Regions from separate parts of the Homo sapiens genome. Here all the other regions are linked to region 3. Evidence: promoter capture Hi-C in 16 types of primary human blood cells and fetal thymus (Javierre and others, 2016). All regions are on one chromosome and are shown on one strand. Each heading gives the region's core, a stretch centred on a gene start or on the middle of the fragment in contact. The rest is flanking DNA. Distances are from core to core; before and after follow the strand shown.

What was found. The method cuts DNA at HindIII sites, captures the fragments that hold promoters and counts their contacts. A CHiCAGO score of 5 or more calls a contact.
Region 1: a contact is called between a fragment that was not itself captured here and the fragment with the promoter of HECA in region 3, in 1 of 17 cell types (M2 macrophages). The highest score is 6.5, in M2 macrophages.
Region 2: a contact is called between a fragment that was not itself captured here and the fragment with the promoter of HECA in region 3, in 1 of 17 cell types (monocytes). The highest score is 5.9, in monocytes.

The regions. Positions count from the first base shown.
Region 1 is chr6:139,761,780-139,764,998 of GRCh38, forward strand. No RefSeq gene overlaps it. Among named protein-coding and RNA genes, the nearest start is that of FILNC1, 7.7 kb to the right of the region's middle. The HindIII fragment of the contact is 2,437 bases long and covers 303-2,739 here.
Region 2 is chr6:139,842,227-139,845,477 of GRCh38, forward strand. All of the region lies in intron 1 of FILNC1 (FOXO induced long non-coding RNA 1), which reads left to right. Among named protein-coding and RNA genes, the nearest start is that of FILNC1, 73 kb to the left of the region's middle. The HindIII fragment of the contact is 3,555 bases long and covers 1-3,105 here.
Region 3 is chr6:139,133,439-139,136,444 of GRCh38, forward strand. It overlaps HECA (hdc homolog, cell cycle regulator), which reads left to right and starts at 1,642. Exons shown (of 4, transcript NM_016217.3): 1 at 1,642-2,229. The coding sequence starts at 1,959. RefSeq lists enhancers at 106-155, 1,434-1,728, 2,594-2,713 and silencers at 1,434-1,623, 1,734-1,813, 2,214-2,483. The HindIII fragment of the contact is 5,734 bases long and covers 1-3,006 here.

The sequences.
Region 1 (3,219 bases), core at 271-2,770, 630 kb after region 3:
GGAGCGTCTACTAAATTGTGATATTTTTTAGGAGCAATTTTGGTGACATGATGTAGATTGAGGACATTTACATGTTTAGAAAGAGTCAGTCACATGGCAATGATATTCTCTATAAAATTTATTTATATCCACTCTTGTTTTTTAAAGGATTTGAAAAGATTAATGAGATTAAATACAACATATCATTAAAAATTGTTAAAAAAAGGAACACGAAACGAGATTCATAAAATAGAGTTAAAATTAAGACTAAATTGAAAACAGATCCTGCAAACACTTGCACCCTTGCCAAAAATTTGGGCCTAAGCTTCCTGGCAACTAACCTGAAATAAATTAGGTACGTGATCAGGTACACAATAGATAGTGTTTAAGTGACAGAAATAGTTCACACTGGTCAGGAGAACTGTAACGACTCTTAATGCAAAATACAGGCAAAGACCTCTTGAGGATGTTCATCAAGTTATGACTGCATAATGCCTCTCATTCATGACAATTCTTAAGCGTGGACCAGCTTGAGTTTCATGAGGTGTGTTTACAGTGTCTTTCAGTATGAACAATCTTCACATCAAATGTAGTTCAGTAAAAGCAATTCTACTGATATTTATACAGGAGTTCTATGAAATAATTTCCTCTAGTCCGTCTAAATTTGGGAATAGATATGAGAGTATCTGCCCAAATGGAAGGACTACTCTATCAATTAGGTAGGGCTAGTTTGTGCCAGAAAATGTCAGTTGCTTAAAACTACAATATTTAATTTTTGTTCAGGCAACACGTTCACAATGGGTTAAAAAAGGACTCTGCTCATTGAAGTTATTAAGGAACCCTTGGTGAATAGAGGCTTCATGCTTTCATGATCACAGAGACTTGGGGAAAGGACACAGCAAACCACGTAGTAGCTCTTAAAACTTTGGCCCAGAACAGTCATCACGTCTGCTGACTGAAGCAAATCAGTCATCAGGCCAGGCCAGTCTTCTATAGAAAGGGATGTGCAATCCTCCCATAGGGAAGTGCACTGAATATTGTAAACAACAATACAGGTTATGACAACCATGTGTCCTTAACAAAAAAACCTAAATAATGATTTTCTCAACTGTCATTTCCCAACATATTGGGTGACAAAAATTTCCAAATTGCATCATTCCCTACTGACTCCCTGAAGTGGTAGTGTTCTCTGCTGGCAGTTTAAAATGAGAACTGTCTGCTTTCAAGGATAGACCGGCTGCGGGTAGGATTGATATTCTACCATGAAAATGCAGCAGCTTAAAGGAGCCATGCCAGAATACTCTCCACCACTTAATACTTTTTATTGCTTTTGACAACTTAAACTCCACATTTTTTCCTTCTCTAGGAAAACATATTGGTAACTAGACATATACATAACATAGATTGGTATAATGATGATGCCTTTTATGATTCACCTTAACCATTCTTTCGTGACCCCTGCCATCAAAAACATTCAGTGACTTCCAGTGGCATTCCTAGCATTTTTGACACCTTGGCTGGATCATTTTTATAACACCCCTCACTTTGTGATGCAATTATTTTCATGTAGTAATTAGCAATCAATATAATTTTTAAATCTTCTGTTTTAAAACAAATGAAAAGAAGTGATTTTGATTCTAAAGATTGTGCAAATTTGGGATATTTTATATATGAACTAAAATTTGCACTTATCAAATAAAAAATGTTATACTTGCATTTTGCATTTAAACGAAAATAGGAAACTCCAAGTGATCCCATAATAACTCAAGTTCTGTTTCTTTGACTTAGAATTGCAGCTATGTCTGCCCAAGGCAATTGCCAAGGTTTCCCAATTTATCCTGAATGATTGTAGCTGAGTGGGGTACGTTTGGGGAACAATTGTTTAACTGGGAATTTGCTGAGTTAACTTTTATGTTGAACACAATATTTAATAAAGGACAAATAATAAAAATGTGCTAATTCAAACCACACAATGTATTATTAAAACTCAATGGTAATGGCAGCAATTGTTTAAAACTAAGACCAGAAATGATTTTTTTTTTTTTTTGAGGAGGAGTATTTTATCACTTCATTGTTTAGAAATGTCGGCAGGAAGTGATGATTAGAATCAGAATGACTGGGTTTTATTATAGCTTTAAAATTTTTTATAGACAGGGTACCCCCTCATTGTCCATACCCAGAACTCCCTCATACTTGGTCAGTCACTGGTGACTCCTCAGTGTTTACATAATTGAGTCTAAAGTGGTGATCTTTAGCATAGTTCTCCATCATATGGCCTCAACCTCCTTCCAGCCTACTCCTCCACAGTTCACCTATTGCGAAAATACCCCATCATCTAGAATTGTGAAAATATTCTGTTCCCTGAGCCCTCCTCTTAAAAAAATGCTTCTCTGTGTGTTTGTATTTCTCCCTCTGACAATGTAAGTGTAAAGAGCACAGGCTTTAGAGCCAGGATTTTGTGGGACTGGATTTTCCCTCTGCAGCTTATAAATTGTGTGACCTTGGACAAGTTATCCAACCCATCTGGGCCTCATCCTCCTCATCTGCAAAAATATTGATTACAGAGCCCATTTACAGATACCACTGGATGAGATGAGAACACATAAAATATATGTTAAATTGTCTTATCCCTCCATATCTTTCATTATTCTCCCTTAATAAGTTTTGCATATCTAACAGTTACAGGACTTTGATCAAAATAGGCCTGCATAGAGTTTGAACAACTGAATTGAATTTATTGGGCTTCATTCATGATATACAAGCTTCCAAAGTCACATGGTCTAAGCCCAAGCTCCAGTTCTTTCTACAATTGCCTCAGCTGTGAGTCTTGAGCATTGTCATAAGAAGAGAATCTAGGATATTTCTCATTTGGCTTCAGTTCCTCTTCTTCAGCTGTCCAGACCTCTTTCATTTAGAAAAACACTGTGACAAAATGAGGAGGCTGCAGAAGCACAAGTGGGAATGGCAGCTGACCGCACGGGGAGAAGGTGTCTATTTCACCTTCAGGACCATCTTAGCATTTTGAGCAGCTCATAGGTCAGGAATGCTGTTGTCATCAGGGTTAGAGCTATGTCCTGAATAAATACCAAGTTAGGAGGAAGATGACTCAGAGCTGCCTAAACCTCATACTCCTCTGATATTTTAAGCAACAGAGAGTGGCAAGCAGCTGTTAGATATCTTTGCTTCTTTGTTCAGGCAAAGCTTAGCCTGTTCCATTTGGAAAGAAAATGGTCATAATTT
Region 2 (3,251 bases), core at 78-2,577, 710 kb after region 3:
TCAGTGAGGTGTTACACATAATGCCCATAGAAACATGCCTACCCCATAGTAGTATGTGTTAGCTATCATTGTAAGCATTGAATGGAGTCATGTATAAAATACCCAAAAAGGCATCTGATGCATGATAGATAATCCCTTAACCATAGAGAAAGCAAGATTCTCTCTATATGGATTCTCCAGGGTCACCTTTTTTATCTAATTTGAAATGTTGCACCCCCTCTTTTCGAACACACAAAATATGACTGAATAACATGATCCTGGTCACTCAAGTTGTTTTTTGTTGAGTTTCTTTATCTTCATTTTCTCATTTCTACTAAAGGCTGTGTAGTATAGAAATTACAAGCTCATACCTACCCTTTATAAAATTAATCAATGATTTACTTTCCCAATAAAACTGTATCTTTTTTCTTTATATATTTCCACTTTATTTCTTTATATTTATAATTGTATTAGCTTCCCTCTTAAAGACTGATTGTTTATCTCCTCATATAAGTACATTTTGATACCTGCAACCTGAATGAATATTTCTTTGCCTTTCATCTCACTGGGTCTCTCAGCAGCATTGGACAATGTTGGCATCTTCTTGCCTTTTGAATTATTCTCTTTCCTTATCTTCCACAATTCCTCTATTTTCCTCATACCTATCTCTCTCTTCCATCTGTGTTGCCCTTGCAGGCTCCTTCTTCTCTATCAAACTATTAAATATGTCAGTATTTCAAGGTTCTTCCTAAGCCATCTCCTTTCCTCATCAAAATTTTTTTGGCAGCTAATTTTCTTTACTTTTTCAATTTAATATTTCTGTTATTGTCTTCCCTATCCTTCCAGTTATCCAAGATAAAATTTCAACCCAGTCTGTCTCCTTCTTTCCCAGATCATTCTTTTGATAGTGTGCCCTTGTTACATATTTGTGGAATGGATAAATTATATAACCTCTCACACGACAGATTGGATTGGACACTTAAAAATCTGCATGATTTAGTTCCTACAAACCTTTTCTCCCCACAGGAATGCTATATTCCAATAAAATGCTCTACCCGTTGTTCTCAGAAAAACCTGTAACGATGAGAATATAGCATCCTTTTTTTTCTTTTCTTTGAGATGGAGTCTCACTCTGTCACCCAGGCTGGAGTGCAGTGGCATGATGTTGGCTCACTGCAACCTCCGCCTACCAGGTTCAAGTGATTCTTCTGCCTCAGCCTCCCAAGTAGCCGGGATTATAGGTGTGCACCACCACGCCCGGCTAATGTTTGTATTTTTAGTAGAGACGGGGTGTCACCATATTGGCCAGGCTGGTCTCAAACTCCTGACCTTGTGATCCTCCTGCCTTGGCCTCCCAAAGTGCTGGGATTACAGGTGTGAGCCACCTCGCCCGGCCTCCTTTTTTTCTTAAATAAAGACTGGAAGCCAATAGCATGTGGTGAGAACTTAAAAGAGTCATTACTAGGATGGACATTTGATAGCCTTTTATGTTAATAAGAATACAACCATTAAGTGATGAAGTAGTGCCATCCTTGATCTTCCAGATCAAAAAGCAAAAGAGAAAAAGATAAACAGCAGCAAAACTCTTCTTTAAGCCCGAATAGCCAAGACAACCCTAAGCAAAAAGAACAAAGCTAGAGGCATCATGCTGCCTGACTTCAAACTATACTACAAGGCTACAGTAACAAAACAGCGTGGTAGTGGGGTATAAGAACAGACACATAGACCAATGGAACAAAATAGAGAACTCAGAAATAAGACCAAGCACCTACAACCATCTGATCTTCAACAACCTGACAAAAATGAGCAATGGGGAAAGGATTCCCTATTTAATAAATGGTGCTTAGAGAACTGGCTAGCCCTATGCAGAAAATTGAAACTGGACCCCTTCGTTGCATGATGTGCAAAAAGTAATTCAACATGGTTTAAAGACTTAAATATAAAACCCCAAACTATAAAAATCCTAGAAGAAAATCTAGCCAATACCATTCAGCACATAGGCACAGGCAAAGATTTCATGATGAAAACGCCAAAAAAATTGCAACAAAAGCCAAAATTGACAAATGGGATCTAATTAAACTAAAGATCTTCTGCATAGAAAAAGAAACTATCATCAGAGTGAACAGGCAACCTACAGAATGGGAGAAAATTTTTGCAATCTATCCATCTGACAAGGGTCTAATATCCAGAGACTACAAAAAAGTTAAACAAATTTACAAGAAAAAAATGAACAACTTCATTAAAAAGTGAGCAAAGGACATGAACAGATACTTCTCAAAAGAAGCCATTCATGTTGCCAACAAACATGAAAAAAAAGCTCAACATCACTGATCATTAGAGAAATCAAATGAGTTTTCTCTAATGGTATCAAAACCATAATGAGATACCATCTCACGCCAGTCCAAATGGCAATTATTAACAAGTCCAGAAACAACAGATGCTGGCGAGGCTGTGGAGAAAAAGGAACACTTTTACACTGTTGGTGGGAGTGTTCAATTAGTTTAACAATTGTGAAAGACAATGTGGAGATTCCTCAAAGATCTAGGGGCAGAAATACCATTTGACCCAGCAATCTTATTATGGGGTATATACCCAAAGGAATATAAATCATTCTATTATAAAGACATATGCATGGGTATGTTCATTACAGCACTATTCACAATAGAAAAGACGTGGAATCAACCCAAATGCCCATCAATGATAGACTGGATAAAGAAAATGTGGTACATATACACCATGGAATACTATGCAACATAAAAAGGAACGAGATCATGTCCTTTGCAGGGACATGGATGGAGCTGGAAGCTGTTATTCTCAGCAAACAAATGCGTAAGCAGGAAAACCAAACACCAAATGTTCTCACTTATAAGTGGGAACTGGATGATAAGAGCATCCCTGCAGATGATGGACACATTGCAGGGAACAACACACACTGGGGCCTGTTGGGGACTGAGGGAGGGAGAGCATCAAGAAGAATAGCTAATGGATGCTGGGCTTATTACCTAGGTGATGGATTGATCTGTCCAGCAAACCACCACGGCACATTTTTTTGGTTTGTTTACAGATGTAACAAACATGCACATCCTGCACATATACCCTGTAACTTAAAAGATGAAGGGAAAAAAAAGCTTTTCTAGTTAAGTGCTTCCTAAAACTTCCAACATAAGGACCACTTTTTTTTTTTTTTTTTTTTTGAGACGGAGTCTCGCTCTGTCGCCCAGCTGGAGTGCAGTGGCGCGATCTCAGCTCACTGCAAGCTCCGCCTCCTGGGT
Region 3 (3,006 bases), core at 392-2,891:
ATCAGACTAATTGTGCGTCACCACTTCATTTACATGAGAAACCTCCAGGGGGTATTTGGACCTCAGAAGATTCTGCATCCGGAACCTTGAGCCACCGCTGGGGCCGCTTCCATACTGTGGAGTGTACTTTCATTCTCAATAAATCCCTGCTTTCTTCTTTCCTTGCTTTGCTGGGCGTTTGGTCCAATTGTTTGTTCAAAATGCCAAGAACTTGGACGACTTGCAGTCAAGACCCTCTAATGGTAACAACAACACCGTGACAGAGCTTTTACTAAAGGGCTGAATTAAAGATTACACTATAAAAGGGGAACACTGTAAAGCTGTCAGCTAAACTAGTCTTTCCTCCACAGTTCGTGAGGAAGGAACCTAATTTATACATTCAACAAATTTATGCCAGCTGTTCTCTGATGTGCCCAAGGCAGATAAAATCTATCCATGGAGGTTTCATTTCAGTGAGAGGGAGATATACAAGAAATAAGTAAACACCTACATTGCCAACATAATTAGAGATGGAGGAGGAAAATAACAGGGTGGAACTTCTGACAGCTCTCCTGGGAAGGTCTCTGTGGAAGTGATGTATTTGAGCTGAGACCTGAAGGAAGGGAAGGAGTTGGCCGAAAAGGTAGAATAGAATTGCAGAAAGAGATCAAGGGGAGCTCTTCCCAGGGGTCCCCTGCCCTCATATTGCCTGTCTTCACTGGTGTCACCTAATCTCCTACTGCTCATAACCTGGCTACCTATCTTTCACTATCTTTCAGGACAACTCAGCCCTATGCATAGGGATGGGTTCCCCCCAAGCAGGGACTGCTTCAGAGTCCAGGCAACATCTAGTTACATCCCTGGATGATGGGTCTTGTTTGAGTGAATTGTTTTCACCACCAGACTGTGAAGGCTTCCCATTCAGGACCCTGGTGTTCATCCCCATTGTCTGGGAACTCTACCCTGTTTCTTTCTTTCTTTTCTTTTTTTTTTTTTTTTTTTGAGACAGAGTCTCGCTCTGTTGCTCAAGCTGGAGTGCAGTGGCGCGATCTCGGATCCCAGGTTCAAGTGATTCTCCTGCCTCAGCTTCCCGAGTTTCTGGGACTACAGGCGCACGCCACCACGCCCAGCTAATTTTTTTTTGTATTTTTAGTAGAGACAGGGTTTCACCACGTTGGCCAGGATGGTCTCGATCTCTTGACCTCGTGATACACCCGCCTCGGCCTCCCAAAGTGCTGGGATTACAGGCATAAGCCACCGCGCCCGGTCCCCTGTTTCTTTAATTACTGTTACTGAAAGGCATAGCCTTTGAATGAGTTATTAATCCAAAATCTTTTGTTTTCCATTCTTGCTCTAGTCACAGCTTATTTTTCCAGACCATACTGTTCTAAGCCTCAATTACATTAAGGCCAGGAGGCCACCGAAGAACTCCACATGCCACTGCACTGGCGGGTGGAGCAAGTCAAGCAGGGCAGCTCATGAACGCCCGGGAGTCCAGGAGGCCCGGGTGGGGACGCCTGGATGACGTCACTCGAGGTGGGCAGGCCCCGCGCGGGGCGTGACGTCACGCGGGCGGTCCCGTCAGCCGTGAGGTCACCTGGTGGGCGCGGCCAGGCCGAATCCCCAGTGTCGTCACGGGAGGGGGCGGGCCCAGAGCGTGTCAGTGCAGCCGAATCAAAACAAGCCGGAGACCCGCCTTTTCCCTCCGGCTCGGGAGCGTCTCGCTTGCGCCCCGGGCCCGCGGCGCCCGCGCGGCTGCGAGCCTCGGGTGGCCGCGTGCCGGCTCCAGGAAGCCGGAGAGGGCGCGGCGGCCAGGATGGCGCGGCACGGGCCGTGCGGCTAGACGGGAGCCGAGGGAACCGCCGGCTCGCGCCCTCCGTTCTTTCCCGGAGCCGGCTTCACGCAGGGCCGGGAACGGCCGTGCCTCTGGGATCCGCCTTCGCTGACGCCGGGCACCTACCTGGACGCGAGCGAGCGAGATGCCCAACCCCAAAAACAGCAAAGGCGGCCGCAAAAACAAGCGCGCCAACAGCAGCGGCGACGAGCAGGAAAATGGAGCCGGGGCCCTGGCAGCGGCGGGCGCGGCGGGAGCGGCGGCCGGGGGGGCCCTGGCGGCGGCGGCCGGTTGCGGGGCGGCGGCGGCGGGCGCGCCGGGCGCCGGAGGCGCGGCGGGCGCCGGAGGCGCGGGGACTGGCGCCGCGAACGCTGCGGCCGCCGCGGGGGCTGCGGCCGCGGGCGATGCCAAAAACGGTAAGACGGGGCTGGCGGGGCGAGCGCCAACTTCCTCCCCGACGGGGACGGCGCGGTGGCGGGGCCCTGGGTGGCGCGGGCGGTGCGTGGACAATGCGAGAGTCAGGAAGTGCTCACCCCGCCCCTCCGCCCCGCCGCGGCTGCCCCTTCGCGGTCCCCACGCCTGGCGGCGGGGACAGATCTGCGGCCCCTGCCCGGTGTCCGCGCGGGGGGCAGCCCGCGCCCCACACTCTGAGGGGCTCCCGGCTGCGGCAGCGCTGCCCTCGGGCCCAGCCTGCTGCCCGCGCTGGCACTGCCCCGCCGTGTGTGCCGGGCCGAAGGGAGGAAGGAAGGGAGGAAAGAGCCGCCCAAGTTGAGAAGAATGATCCGATTGAAAACTTAGGCACCGGTTAATTCTTCCCGGTGCTCCAAGGCCACCCGTAACCCCCGGAATGAAGGAGAGAGAGCCTCAATTCTTAGCACACCCAGGCTTGCTGCGTCGATCGCCACAGGTGAAGAGGCCTCGAGACATTTAGGGCCTCTGTGTTTGCTCTTTAATTTTTTGGCTTGCTTGAGGAAGGAAGAGAATCTGAACTTGACTTCCGTTCTCAGCCCGGAGTTAAAAAAAAAAAAAAAAAAAGAAAAGAAAGAAAAGAAAAATCATTCTCTATGTCATTGTGCTTAACATTTTCAGAAGGAAGCCTCATAATCTTAGGTAGTGCCTGAATGTTCCTTTTGAGGGGACACTTAGGAACTGGCCCAGATGTGACAGGATTTCTGTTCTCATTACAGAGCCAT